5 separate regions of the Homo sapiens genome follow, and all the other regions are linked to region 5. Evidence: promoter capture Hi-C in 16 types of primary human blood cells and fetal thymus (Javierre and others, 2016). All regions are on one chromosome and are shown on one strand. The core of a region is centred on a gene start or on the middle of the fragment in contact, and the rest is flanking DNA. Distances in the headings are between cores, read along the strand shown. Region 1 overlaps MYO1B (myosin IB). Region 2 has its middle 190 kb from the start of MYO1B-AS1. Region 3 has its middle 210 kb from the start of NABP1. Region 4 has its middle 190 kb from the start of NABP1. Region 5 holds the start of MYO1B (myosin IB).

Region 1 (2,700 bases), core at 73-2,572, 170 kb after region 5:
AACCCTAAACTTAGAAAAATCCCCAAAGCTTCCCTTAGCCTGTTTACCCTACTTTGGATCTTAACTTAAAGGGGGCATATCAAATACTAGGACAGTGATTCTCAACCTCAGTGACACATGTAAACAGCTTGGGAACTTTAAAAATTCTGATGCCCAGGCCATACCCCTATGAAATCAAATTAGAATTTCTCAGAGGGGGCACAAGCATCATGTTTTTTTTTTTGTTTTGTTTTGTTTTTTTTTTGAATAAACCCAGATGATTCCCTTGCACAGCTAAGGCTGAGAGCCACTGCCCTAGGATATTTGTTGGAAGTGTTGTCATTAGGGTTTTAACCAAATCACTGAAAAGTTTTTTAATCAAGTCCTTCAGAAGAGTTGCGGGATAGGTCCATGCTCCTCAAACCTGAATGTGTAAACCCATACCTGGAGGTTGCGTTGTGGTTTCATATTCACTGGGGCTGTGGTAGGGCCTGAGATTCTGCTTTTCTAGCAAGCTCCAAGTGATGCACATGGTGCTTCTGCTGCATCCACCGACTTTAGGTAGAAGGGGATTAGGTAACCTTACTAAAGTGCTCTGAGCAAGTTGGAAGAAACACTGCTTTTGTCATTATTGTTTACCTTGGGAGAATGGATTCCAGGATCTGATGTTTTAAAGAGACTGTAAGTATGTTTTTAGCCAAGCCTGTAAATATTGACCTTCTAAGGTATCTTTAATTATGACCGACTCTTGGTTTGTCCTTGCAGGGCTCAGAAGCAGCTAGTAAAGGAGACTTTCTCTTCAGCAGTGATCACCTGATTGAAATGGCCACCAAGCTCTATCGCACAACTCTCAGCCAAACCAAACAGAAGCTCAATATTGAGATTTCCGATGAGTACGTTCATGTATTGTTTGAAAACCCTTTTTCTCTTTCAGCTTTTTTGTTTTAGTTCAGCTCTCGATCTCATTCATTAATACAACTACTTATTAAGTACCAGGTATGTGTCTAGTAGTTGTTCCACATGATAAATGGGCAGTGAATGACACTGACCAAGTCTCCAACCTCATGTACCTGACATCCTAGTGGAAGAGACCAGTATGTACAAATAAAATGATGAAATAGTTGATAAGATTTTGGCTAACAAGTGTTTATGGAGGAAAAAAAGGGTTAAGAGTCAGAGAGTAGGCCAGGCGCAGTGGCTCACGCCTGTAATCCCAGCACTTTGGGAGGCCGAGGCAGGCGAATCACGAGGTCAGGAGTTCGAGACCAGCCTGGCCAACATGGTGAAACCGTCTCTACTTAAAATACAAAAAAAATTAGCTGGGCGTGGTGGCGGGCGCATGTAATCCCAGCTACTCAAGAGGCTGAGGCAGGAGAATCTCTTGAACCCGGGAGGCGGAGATTGCAATGAGCCGAGATCGTGCCACCGCAATCCAGCCTGGGTGACAGTGTGAGACTCCGTCTCAGAAAAAAAAAAAGAGTCAGGGAGGCCTCTTTGATGTGGTGACATCTGAGACTGGTATAAATTTGAAATTTGCTTCTTCAATTTCTCATTAGGGTTCTGAATATAGAAGTTAGTTATTTGCATACAGGTTGGGGCATCCCCAGATTTATTGTATCTATCTATGTAAGTGTTTTGGAGAAATCTGAGTTACTGTGTTGATTATACTTAATTGGTTACCTTTCAATAGATTGTTTACCTGCTTATATACTTCTTTGCATGTCTAGATTGCTCAGGAAATTATATTCTTTTCTAATTAAGAATTTTCTAGTCTATTCTGTTTCAACTCTTCCTAAAAGTCTTTCTAAAATAAATTTACACCCATTTCTGCCCCTTTGTAAGTCAGACTCTCTTTGATATGTTAGGATTTTGCAGTGCTGTGGGCTTTTCTTAAGTTCTCATTGAAGTGTTTAGATTTGGGTGGGAGGTTGGGCTTCATGTATACTCTATATTGGAAATTGCTGTTCGGACTAAATAACTTTTCTTGTTAATGAGATCTTTCTCATAAAGAAATTAGGAAAAAAATAATGGTTGGTGTGTTTCAGTTAAGGATTTAACACGTTAGGGCCTATTAGAGCTTTAAAATCCCTTTATAATAGTTGAAGTTTTTCATAATCTGGGAGAATGGGCTTTGGTGGGGCTGCTAATTCTCACTCACCATGGGAAGATCGTATGTATCCCAGACAGCAGAAGCTCCTCAGTGTACAGACGAAGCAGTCTCATAGTTGTCCCACTATGTGAATAAACTCATCTTTACACAGAAAGGAAATCACACCAACATCCAGACCACAAAGTACTGCTATTTTTAAGCATTTCCCAAACCGGGATTCTAGGAACATTGCTTGTACAGGATGCTAATAACGATGTACTGTGAAAAAATTGTTCTCTGATGGAAATTTAAAATCTTTCTTCACTACATTACATCTCAGAGTCCCTGAAATCTTGTTGTGATTCTCCTGAGGAGCTTTGCGGGGATAGCGTGTGGCGTGAATCCTAAACATAGTCAACCACAGAGCTCCTTCAGCAGCTCTCACAGCTTGTGTTCGAAGGTGTGCCATCTGGGAAAGGGGGACAGTTCGCTTCTGGGCAGCAAGGGCCCTGCCCTGTCACAGAGGGCGTGTGATGTTCTGGATGCCATAAGCTTTCAGTAAACAGTTGTCTGAGCGAAGATTTATAATGTGGCCACATGAAGAAAACAAACATTGGGTAGCATTATAATGC
Region 2 (2,700 bases), core at 129-2,628, 190 kb after region 5:
CATCAGGGTGACAACCTGAAGTTCCTCACTTCTGGAAGAGCCGACATGTTTGAAGCCATTTCCAGTTAGAGAAAAACAAAAACACAAGCTATTGCAGGGGAGTAAAATGATGAGAAATAAAATCTACAAAAATGATACGCTTTCAGAACATGCCTAAGAAAGGCATGTCTGTATTATGCCTTTGGGGATAGATTTGGTTGCTGAGAAGTGTATTCTGAATAACACGTGGTTTCTTGGTTCTTTAAGCAGGCTATTACTTTCTCTGTTGCTTTCCTCTTGTTTTCTAGACTGTCTAATGAAATTCTTTTACAGAGGAAAATTAGAATAATATGACCAGATATGTTTTTTACAAACGAAAATGGTGACAAGTTGAAAATATTTTTTCAACGACTGGAGTTTCAACTGGAGTTTCAAGCAGTGGTGTGAGCATCTTAAGCATGTCCTTCAGCACTTGGTGTGAATGACAGCTGATAGAGGTGAGGTAGACTGGCAAACTGCTGCCTGAGTCCAAGATGGCTTTGAACCTACGCAGCTGGTGCTTTGGACCATAAAGAGAAATAATTGCATCTGCAGAGTTTTACGTGTGTTTCATTTAAGATTTGTAAGAGAGGATAGTTTACTGTTCCCTTTTAAACTCTTGGGGTTCAGCTGCCTATTATATAGACTCTTACTCCTTCTATTTCTGGCACTTTTTCAACATGGGAAGCCTTATTTGCATTTAAATGTTATATACAGCGGGGCGGGGGGGGTGGGTGGGGATGGGGAGGGGACCTTTCTTGACTTAGCAGTAGTGTTTCTAAGATTTCCATGTGCTTGTGACTGATGGATGGATATTTAAAACAATCAAATGTATTTTATTCTGTAAAACTATATATATGATAGTCTCTTGAGACTAAGCTGTTATTTAAAATAAAAAGTGTCCAAAATCCTTTGCTCCAAAGATGGTGTGTGTGTGTGCATGCCTGTGTGCATATGCACATGGGTATATATTTACAAAGAAGGAAAACAGAAAATCTCGCTATGTGCTCGTTTCCTTGAACTTTAACCTCACTTGCAAAGAGGCAGATCTCATCTGTGATGTGTCTAATCAGGAAGTACTAGAGTTATTTTTGTAACTCTTTTGCAACATAAGGCTGTGTCTTTCTGCCTTCCTTAAAAATATGTCCTGTCCCTCAAATACCATGACACTTGGGTTAAAATTTGAAAAAAGCAAAAGAATAAAATACAATTCCATGATGCCAATTTGGACTATATCCACCCTACTCATCCGAAGTCCCAGATGTCAGGCCCCGAGGGGTCACTGTTAATTCCTTCCCCACTACTGGAAAAATGTAACTTCCTTTCATGCCATGGGGAAAATTCTCCATTTCTCTTTTGCGGCATGGACTAGCATTAGCCTTTGTGGCTGTAGACCATTATGACAGATTCATGGGGAAGTAGGGTGAGAGAGATAGGAGAACTGCCCAAGCTGTGTGAACAGAACAGCAGACAAGGCAGAGCTAAGGATGGGAGTTTAAAGGACTGGAGATTACAAGTGGGAGGAAATATTCGGCAATGGCAAAAAGATTGTTCAAATTGGATGTCTTAACATACTCTTTAATTAATAAAGTGTTCAATTACATCCTTAAATTTATCCTTCCAATTAGTCTGCTAGAAAAATTATAAAAAATGATTATTTTATTATTAAATCTAAAGTTACTTATATAAATCATACAATTAACTTTTCAGAAAGAGTCAACATGGGAACTTTTTTTTTCCTTCCAACTTTTATTTTAGGTTCTGAGGGCAAATGTGCAGGTTTGTTACATGGATATTGTGTGTCACTGAGGTTTGGTGTACAGATTATTTTGTCACCTAGGTATGAGCATAGTACTGTTACCGGTGGAGTGTGTCCAGGTTCTTAGTGTCTTGAACAAAGAATTGGACAAAACGCACAAACAAAGCAAGGAAAGAATGAGCAACAAAAGCAGAGATTTATTGAAAATGAGAGGATGCTCCACACGGTAGGAGTGGACCCGAGCATAAGGGCTCAAGTGCCCTGTTACAGAATTTTCTGGGGTTTAAATACCCTCTAGAGGTTTCCACTGGTTACTTGGTGTATGCTCTATGTAAATTAAGAGGATGAAGTAAAGTTACAAAGTCATTTACTGTTGTACGCCCTACGTAAATGGAGAGGATATTTTCTGTTATAGCTGAAGTGTTTTCCATTTGACTTTGTTCTAGGAAGTCCTTATGTTCCTTGTCTCCAAACCCTATTCTGCCTCAGTACCTAATAGGTAGTTTTTCAATCCTCCTCTTCCTCCCACTCTCCCACCTCAAGGAGGCCCCAGTGTCTATTGTTCCCATCTTTATGTCCATGCGTACTCAATATTTAGCTCCCACTTAAAAGTGAGAACATGTGGTATTTGGTTTTCGGTTTCTGCGTTAGTTCTCTTAGGATAATGGCCTCCAGCTCAGTCCATGTTGCTGCAAAGGACATGATTTTGGGGTTTGTTTTGTTTTGTTTTTAATTAGCATGGGAACTTTCTAAATCATGAAACATCCTGTATATTTGGATGAAGTTGTGTGCTGTCTCCCCACACCCCACCCCCATTCCATTCCCATTGACCCACTCTGGACAGCATTGCTGCGTGCCCGGGGAGGACGTGTCCTCTCTACTTCCTTTCTCCCCACCCCTCAAAGGGGTGTTGTATGTGGCTG
Region 3 (2,700 bases), core at 187-2,686, 220 kb after region 5:
CAGTTACAATTCAGCAAAAGCTGGTTCCTAGCATTGATAGACAGCAATCTCCTAGAATTAAACGTGAGTTTAAAAGAGATTGATTTTGATATTCCCAGGGAGAAGGGCAGGCAGGCCAGCCATCCTGGGGTCTGGTCCTTCTTTGAGAAAAGCATATAAGCATACATATTTTCAGGCCCCAAAGACACCCTAAGATGTCTAGGGCTGGTAATTTACTTAATGACACCCAGGGACCTAGAAGAATTAATGTGCATTTAAATGATGAGCTTTTATGGTTTCCCCAAAGGTCATAATGTATTTGGCAGTTGAGCACCGTGATGTTGGAAACAAAGGCAATCATTTCAAGAACATCTCATTTGTATCAATGAAAATTTTTCTCTCAACTTTAATATGTTTCTTTTTGTTTAAAGGTATCTCTTATTAAAAAGGCTAGAAATCGCTTTTTTTTTCTCTGAAGGTCAAAAGTAAATGTATCTTGTTGGGACATTTTATCCCACCCGGGGTATTAGAAAAGTCATTATATATATATAAAAAATATATAATTATATATGTAATTTTATAAATTTTTAAATTGTAATATTTATTACATTTAAATTATTTATAAAATTCATAAAATTTTACATTTATAAAATTATAAATATAAATTATATATAATATACTAAACATATATAATATATTAGACATATATTATATATAATATATTAAATATAAATATCCCCAGACTCTAAGTCAATAACTTCTGTTTCCTCTAACCAATTGATTTTTTAAATTATTAGTATAATTTTTATCCAACCTGGTTGGTATCCCTAAGATATTAAACTTTTACTAAGAAAACAGGGTGGATGGTAAGAACACATAAAATCTGGCTGACTTTCAGTTTGACATTCTTTCATTAAAGATTGTTTGGTTTTACCGAGCTCTTCCACCTCGTGCCTGGGAACAGTCTCAAGCAATGGTTCACTCAACAAGAGGAGAGATGCTCTTTAGTGGGTGGAGCCCACAGCAGTGCCTAGACTCTCACTGATGAAGAGTCAAAACCTTTTTTTTTTTTTGAGACCGAGTTTCACTCTTGTTGCCAGGCTGGAGCGCAATGATGCGATCTGGGCTCACTGCAAACTCCGCCTCCCGGGTTCAAGCGATTCTCCTGCCTCAGCCTCCCGAGTAGCTGGGATTACAGGCATGAACCACCACACCCGGCTAATTTTGTATTTTTAGTAGAGACAGGGCTTCTCCATGTTGGTCAGGAGGGTCTCAAACTCCCGGCCTCAGGTGATCCGCCCGCCTTCGCCTCCCAAAGTGCTGGGATTACAGGTGTGAGCCACCGTGCCTGGCCTAAAACTTTTCTTTAAATCAAAAAATAGGCCTGTAATCCCAGCACTTTGGGAGGCCCATACAGGAGGATCACTTGAGTTCAGGAGTTCCAGACCAGCCTGGCCAACATGGTGAAACCCCATCTCTACTAAAAATAGAAAAAAAATTAGCTGGGCATGGTGGTGCATGCCTGTAATCCCAGCATCTCGGGAGGCCAAAGCAGAGGAATTGCTTGAACCCATTAGGCAGAGGTTGCAGTGAGCTGATATTGTGCCACTGCACTCCAGCCTGGGCGACAGAGCAAGAATCTGTCTGAAAAAAAAAATCAATTAATTAATTAATTAATAGTCTTACAACTTTGGGGACAAAGTTTGAGGCCTTGTTGGTCAGAGTAATTAAGTGGAGGTCGAACCAGGAATGTGGCCTCCTTGATCCACACAGCTGCAGAAGACTCTGGGAAGAAAGGCTCCTCACTTCCTGTAACTGTGGGTTGCTCCATTGGGACTTCCTGTCACAGGCTGTCCTGAAGGCTCCAAACATTCCCCCCTCCAACTTCTCCCTCCTACCAGTTTCCATCATCTTTAAACAAAAGAATACGGGAAAGTGAGCTCATTCAACTTTGATGGCAAAAAGATATTTTACAGCGGACCAACTTTTTAAATGAATTCACATCTTGAAAAATAATTTACTAAGTAATTTTAGTTAGAGCTTAAAAAATACAATGAGCTAGGAATGGAAAAGAGAGAAAGACCTTTATAAAGCCAAGATAGAAGTTTTATTGGATTCCATTCCAAAAATAGAGTTCCTGTGTACAGCTCTATGGATATGATTCAACTTACTGTGACAATGTAGGGCAAAACCAGTTAGTTTTATGTACAAACAATATTTTCCTTTTAAACTTGTCCTGATATTCCAAAAGAGGAAATTATTTTGGCATTGTGAAAGTTTGCTTTTCTGATTCCTTTGAGAATAATTTAATAGTTTCATGGTACTTTATATTTTTTAATTTTAGTGTCATCAGTGTTCATTTAATAGTACATAGAACATGTGTTGTGCTTGTTAAATAAATAAATGATCTAAGGGCCTAGAATGACAATTCCATAGCAAATTGCAATGACATAAATAAAATGCATGTGCAATTTTGTAGGCAGAACCCTTCCCACTTCCAAGTAAAGTACAAAGAAAAATTTAATGTTTTATATTGATCATATGAACCAAAAGGAAGTGTTCTGGCCCCAAAGCTCAAAGCTGTTGATGATAATGCTTTAAATTTGTGTGCATTTCACCAGTTTTAAAACAGTTTCTTCAAATATGTTATCTCATTTGATTTTCTCAGCAATTCATCATGTAGGCCTGGCAAACATTATGTGGTGAATATGGAACTTACAA
Region 4 (2,700 bases), core at 111-2,610, 240 kb after region 5:
CTAGCCATCCTGGGAGTGGTGGAGGGAGGTTGTAGAATAGTGGTGGTGATGGTTGGGGATGGTAGAGCTAATAAAATGGTTTTGAATGCCAGAATAAGACTAAGATGTACAATAGGCAAGACAGAGTGATGCACATGTGGACAACACTCTTTGAGAAAGATTACTCTGGCAGCTTTGTGAAAAACAGACTGGGTTAAGGATGGCTTACGAAAAAAAGGCCAACTGGGAAACTGCTGCTGTATCCTTAGAACAAAGAGTAAGGGCCTAAACTAGCAAAGGAGCCCTGGGAGAGAAAGGAAGTATTGGAAAGACTCAGTACAAGGAAGAAGCATAACTTCCTGGCAGCTTATTTTGGGAATAGCAGGAAAGGCAAAGAACAAGAATAACACATTATGATAGTACATGTTGCCAAACTAGAGAGTGGAGGAAGATGATAGAAATACTAGTAATGAGGATAATTAATTGCAGCTTATATTTATCAAATGTTTCCTGAATTATGACATCAGAGTTCTAAGAGCTTCACAAATATTAACTCACTTAATCTTCCCTTTGATTTTGTGACGTAGATCTCAACATTTTACCAATGAGGAAACAGGCACAAAAAGCTCCAGTTACTTACCTAGAGTCACCTGTGATGTAAGTTAGTGAGTAATTGAGCTGAGGTTCACTCCCCAGAGCCTGAACCCTTCTGCTTCTCAAGATATAAAAGATATGGCTCAAGGGCCAGGGAACAGTTGTCCCCAGATCAACTTTCCAAATTTATCTTTACCCCAGGTGCCCACCACTATGATCATAATTAACTTCTTGCTATTTCCACACTTACTACATCCTTTTCCTTCTCTTACTGAAATAGCCTCAGCTTGCTTGCCCACCTCATAGTAATAATAATAGCCAGCATTTATTGAGCATTAATTATGGGCTGTCACAGTTTTATGTGCTTGATGTGTATGCACTAATTAATCTTCATGACAACATTATAAGATGGGTATTACTAGTAGTAATAGTAGTATTCTCATCCATTAGAAGGCAAGCTATAGGGAAAAGGAATATTTATCTGTTTTATTCACCATAATGCTGTGTGGTATATTGTAATGGTCAGCAAAGATTTTTCAAATGAATGAACTTTACAGATGTGGAAACTGAGGCACAGTTGGCCTAAAATGACACAATTAATAAAGAGTAGGGCCCTGCTTGGGCCAGACTCTGGCTTCATAGCCTGTGTAGTATCACTAACTCATACCAACTCAGCCCTTAACACCAGCACAAATGTCACCTCTCCTGGGAAATTGGAAGGAAAATGGATACTCTGAGAAAACCTTCCCACTCCTCTCCATTTCCCTTGGGATGTCTTGGATGAAGACATCTTTAATATCTTGCTGTGTCTTTAAATCCCATACAGCACCCTTGTGGTTTTCCTCACTTCTCTTTGGCCCTCACTCTCATTCTTTTTGGTGCTTCGATCCTCTCAGGCACTAATTTTGGATTCCCAGGATCATGCTCCCACCCTCAGCCTTGCCCTTTATCTCCCTTGGCCAAATTTTAGTAATAACGCTGTCCATGCAGCCACTTCCCTCCATTCCCCGGGGCCCATTGTGCTTGCTCTGCAGAAGATACCACTTGGGTTTCCATTTCTATCCAATCCCCAAAGCTCTTTTTATAGTCTGCAAATTGTGTTGCTTCTTCTCGGGCTTTGAAATTAGGGAGTGTAGGCTGACCTGGTTCTAGTACTTTGAAAGTAGGGCTGGCACCACCTCCTTGATTTATCATGTGGTAGCAACAGGGAGGGGACCATCAGTGAATACTTATTAGACATCTAGTAGTACAGCAAGGAGCTAAGGTGAGCATACCTGTGGGGGTGAAGGACTGCCCTTAGAGGTTTGCTGATATTGCAAAGCCTTGTTGCTTTGAACCCATACCTTAACATTTAGCAAAGGGAAAATGCCAAAAGGACAAGTAGCCTCAGCAGACTTCCCAGATAAAAGTAGATTGTATCAATGACTGTATTCTGTTCAGCACTGCATTCACTAGACTTAATGGACCATGAGGAGCTCTGGATCCAACAACTGATAATAATAGCTAAAATCAAAAATCTAGATGTTTCCAGTTGGAGAATTAGGAATTCATTTCTAGAGCCATGAGCTTATGAGGAAATACTATGTGATATTTCATAAATCACATATACTATTTTCTCTTTGGGAAGAAACCAGTTCCTAGGAAGCTAGGTATGGAAGGCAAATTGCCTTTCAAGGTCTCGTGTCAATTCCTGGCTTTAATGGGCTTGTGACTCATAACCACAGAGACTTCAGTCTAGGCCCACGCAGCAGCTTGGAGCTGGGAATGGAGGTTATTACTGCAGATGACTAAACAGCATCCAGCTGAGGTAGCAGAATCTGGTGCTGCTAATGAGAAAAGATGACTACTGCCTTTTCTTTTCCACATACCAGAGGTTTTCTCTGGTGGAGTTTCATTTTCTGCATGAAATGGCAGACTCGCCTCCCCAGACATAAAGTTGCCACAGATGTAGAATTATATAATGTTCAAACTAGAAAGTTCCCTAGAAATCATCTCCTCCATCTTCTCAACTTGTATATAGGGAAACTGAGGCAGAGAGACCAGGTAACACTTGATTTTACATAATTTCCTAATTAAGGCCTGGATTGTGTTTCTGAATCCAGCGTTTTTGCCATGGAAGCTACAAGA
Region 5 (2,700 bases), core at 11-2,510:
TGGTACCCAGTATGTGTTAGTTTCGCCCATTATCACACCACTTGTACATCTGAAGTGATGCTGATGGTGACATCAATGATGAGACAGTTCCCAGCAGATATAGTCTGTGAAGGTCCCACCTTTCCAAACTCTACTAGTGGCATTTAACAAATCCCAGCGCCTGTGGTTCTTATGCCAGTGGGAACAGTTACTATATATGGTCTGAATTCTTTGGTTCACCTCACTTTAGTGACAGTTTCCAGATACAGGTCAGTCCATTTAAACCTGGCCCATTTATGGCAATTTATTTCATTATAGGATAAAGTAGTTAGAACCATGAGTAATAATTACTGTGTCTACAGTGCTTTTAACACCTCAGCCAAGTAATCCTCATCTCACCCAGTGAGTAAGTTTGAATGCGCACCCTTCCCTGTGCGAGGATGAAGAAACCAGGACCTGGGTCAAGAGGATTGTTCTAAATTCTCCAATGAGGCAATAGGGCTTGAGTGAGAAGGTGTGTGTGTGTGTGTAGGGGGGGTGTCCTGATTCTCTGGCCCCTACATGCCTGTATAATATACCCCATCACTGATCATTACTCAGGACCTGTTAATACACTCTATTCAAATACGTATGGGTATTTGAAATTTCTTTTAAACTACCTCTCATGTATTTATAACACAAAGAATTGGCCAGTGTCTATTTCCCACAATGTGAGATTAAGTAATTTAAAAGATACTAAAAGTCTTGTAAATGAAGACACACCACACCACTCAGTATAATTTTTTTCTTTTTCTGTGAAACTAATATTTTCTGATATTCTCGGCATCCAAAAATTTTCATCTTGGGGAGGAGGAAAAATTGAGACTTACTCCCACTGTTTGCCGGAATGTGACCCCAGGCTGGCTTCGAGTTGTCAAATGTTGTATTTCTCATTTTATGTCAGTGAGTCTGGAAGCAAAAAAGGTAGAAAGACTGCCTTCCGTGGGGGCCGCGACGATCGCCCCTCCTTCCCTCAAGCCTCGTCCCATCCAGGCTCGCCCCGGGTGCGGAGGGTCGGGCCGCAAACCCGCAAGGCGCGGAGGCCGCCGCGACGCTCACCGGGGGGCGCTGTGAAGCCGGCACCGGGCGGACAGAGGTGAGTCGGCTCGGAGGCGGTGGCTCCCGTTCCTGCCCGCGCGCCGAGGGGCGAATCCCAGGCAGCGAGGTCGCCGCCCCCGCCCCTCGGCCGGCCCCTCCGCCAGCGGGCGAGAGGGGAGTGGCCGGGCTCCTCCCGCCGCCGCTGAGCACTCCGCAGCTGGGTGCGCACGGGAGCCTCAACCGCGGCGCGTGGAGGCAGTACCAGAGCGCGCGGCGCGCAGTCGGCCGGCAGCCGCGGGACAGCCTTGGCAGAACAGCCGCGGCGGGAGCCCCGCAGCCCCGGGCTGGGCCCGCGTCCCGGAGCGCCACCGGAGAGCGAGGACGACGTGGAGGCGGAGTGGCGCCCGGCGAGGTAGCGCCAGGCGAGGTAGCGCGAGCGCTTTCTCTCTCTCTCCCCTGCCCTTCCCTCTGCGTCCGTCGTCGGCCCCCGAGGCGCCTGCTCCGCGCCTTTGTGCCCGCGGTCCCTGGCCCCGTCGCACCCTGCGGGCGGGGGTCAGCGGGCTCTGCCGCTCTCTTGGGAGACGCGGCGCTGCGGCGGGAACGGCGCACGCTGTAGGTTGCGGAGGGTGGTCGTGACTCCGCAGTGGCTTCGGGGGTGGCGGGAGGGAAGAAGGGCTTGTAAACTAAGTTGCTCTTACTTTGCCCCATGCCTCTCGTACCTGTGGGCAGAGTCGAATCTCGGCTGTCCTCGTGTTCACCCACAGCCCCTCCATTCCTCTGGCCCACAGCTGTTTCCTGGCCCCCTGGAAAGACACGGTGTGGCTTCCTCCGGGCAGGAAAGCGGAGGGAGAACAATGGGGCGTCCTGGGGAGTGGGGTTCAGGTGCGGTGTGCCCCGGCGGCGGCGGGGGAGGAGGGGCCCGGGACGCTGTGGGCCTCCCTGCGCGTGCAGCTGCGCTCGCCTCCTTTGTTCCGCCGCAGCGGAGGGGGTTGCCCTGGGTCTCGTTTCCTGCCCGGGATGGGATTGATTCACGGTCCCAGAGAGGGAAGGGGAAGGGGGCGGGGCTGGAATGGAAACCAGATTAGAGACGGGAGCTACGAAGGGTGGTGGGGCCGGGAAGAGAGTTGGGGAGAGGGTTGGGAGAGGGTGATGAGAGCGCGCTGGAGAGGTAACTACAAACACACAACATTTTGTTCAAGGGCCATGTGAGTTTCTAGAGCTTATTTGTAGTGCTTTGTTCAGGCTTCGGCCCAGCGTTTATTGCTGCAACAAGTTGTGTGCTTCTTGAGTTTCTAGGCGTTCCCAATGTTAGATTGCTCAAAGCAAATCTTCTTAGTTACAGTGAAAGAAGCCCCCCCCCCTTTTTTTTTGAGATTTGAAAAAATTTTGCTATGAACTATGGTATTGGTGTGTATGTGTGTGCCTCTGGGTCTGTGTGTGTAGCTAGTGGATATTGGCTGGAATGGGTAGGAGACAAATTTTATAGAATCAATTTTGACGTAAAATTGTTTTATAGTATAATATAGTACAACAGTTTTCCAGGACTGTTTGAGGGCAGAAACCACCAGAAAATTAGACATTGCTATAAATAAATGAATCAGACTATGTAACACAATTGAAAAACCCTTTTACAGTCTGTCCCAG

Evidence for each region. The method cuts DNA at HindIII sites, captures the fragments that hold promoters and counts their contacts. A CHiCAGO score of 5 or more calls a contact.
Region 1: a fragment that was not itself captured here is called in contact with the fragment with the promoter of MYO1B in region 5 in 1 of 17 cell types (endothelial precursors); the score reaches 6.0 in endothelial precursors.
Region 2: a contact is called between a fragment that was not itself captured here and the fragment with the promoter of MYO1B in region 5, in 1 of 17 cell types (M0 macrophages). The highest score is 5.0, in M0 macrophages.
Region 3: a fragment that was not itself captured here is called in contact with the fragment with the promoter of MYO1B in region 5 in 4 of 17 cell types (M1 macrophages, endothelial precursors, M2 macrophages and 1 more); the score reaches 7.0 in M1 macrophages.
Region 4: a contact is called between a fragment that was not itself captured here and the fragment with the promoter of MYO1B in region 5, in 5 of 17 cell types (M2 macrophages, M1 macrophages, M0 macrophages and 2 more). The highest score is 10.0, in M2 macrophages.

What each region holds. Positions count from the first base shown.
Region 1 is chr2:191,415,371-191,418,070 of GRCh38, forward strand. MYO1B (myosin IB) reads left to right here. Exons shown (of 31, transcript NM_001130158.3): 30 at 745-872. Among named protein-coding and RNA genes, the nearest start is that of MYO1B-AS1, 170 kb to the left of the region's middle. The HindIII fragment of the contact is 2,592 bases long and covers 27-2,618 here.
Region 2 is chr2:191,435,481-191,438,180 of GRCh38, forward strand. No RefSeq gene overlaps it. Among named protein-coding and RNA genes, the nearest start is that of MYO1B-AS1, 190 kb to the left of the region's middle. The HindIII fragment of the contact is 3,771 bases long and covers 1-2,700 here.
Region 3 is chr2:191,464,118-191,466,817 of GRCh38, forward strand. No RefSeq gene overlaps it. Among named protein-coding and RNA genes, the nearest start is that of NABP1, 210 kb to the right of the region's middle. The HindIII fragment of the contact is 9,484 bases long and covers 1-2,700 here.
Region 4 is chr2:191,484,787-191,487,486 of GRCh38, forward strand. No RefSeq gene overlaps it. Among named protein-coding and RNA genes, the nearest start is that of NABP1, 190 kb to the right of the region's middle. The HindIII fragment of the contact is 6,496 bases long and covers 1-2,700 here.
Region 5 is chr2:191,244,144-191,246,843 of GRCh38, forward strand. It overlaps MYO1B (myosin IB), which reads left to right and starts at 1,261. Exons shown (of 31, transcript NM_001130158.3): 1 at 1,261-1,483. It overlaps MYO1B-AS1 (MYO1B antisense RNA 1), which reads right to left and starts at 2,032. Exons shown (of 4, transcript NR_186085.1): 1 at 1,776-2,032. RefSeq lists an enhancer at 1,147-1,769 and a silencer at 1,182-1,571. The HindIII fragment of the contact is 11,846 bases long and covers 1-2,700 here.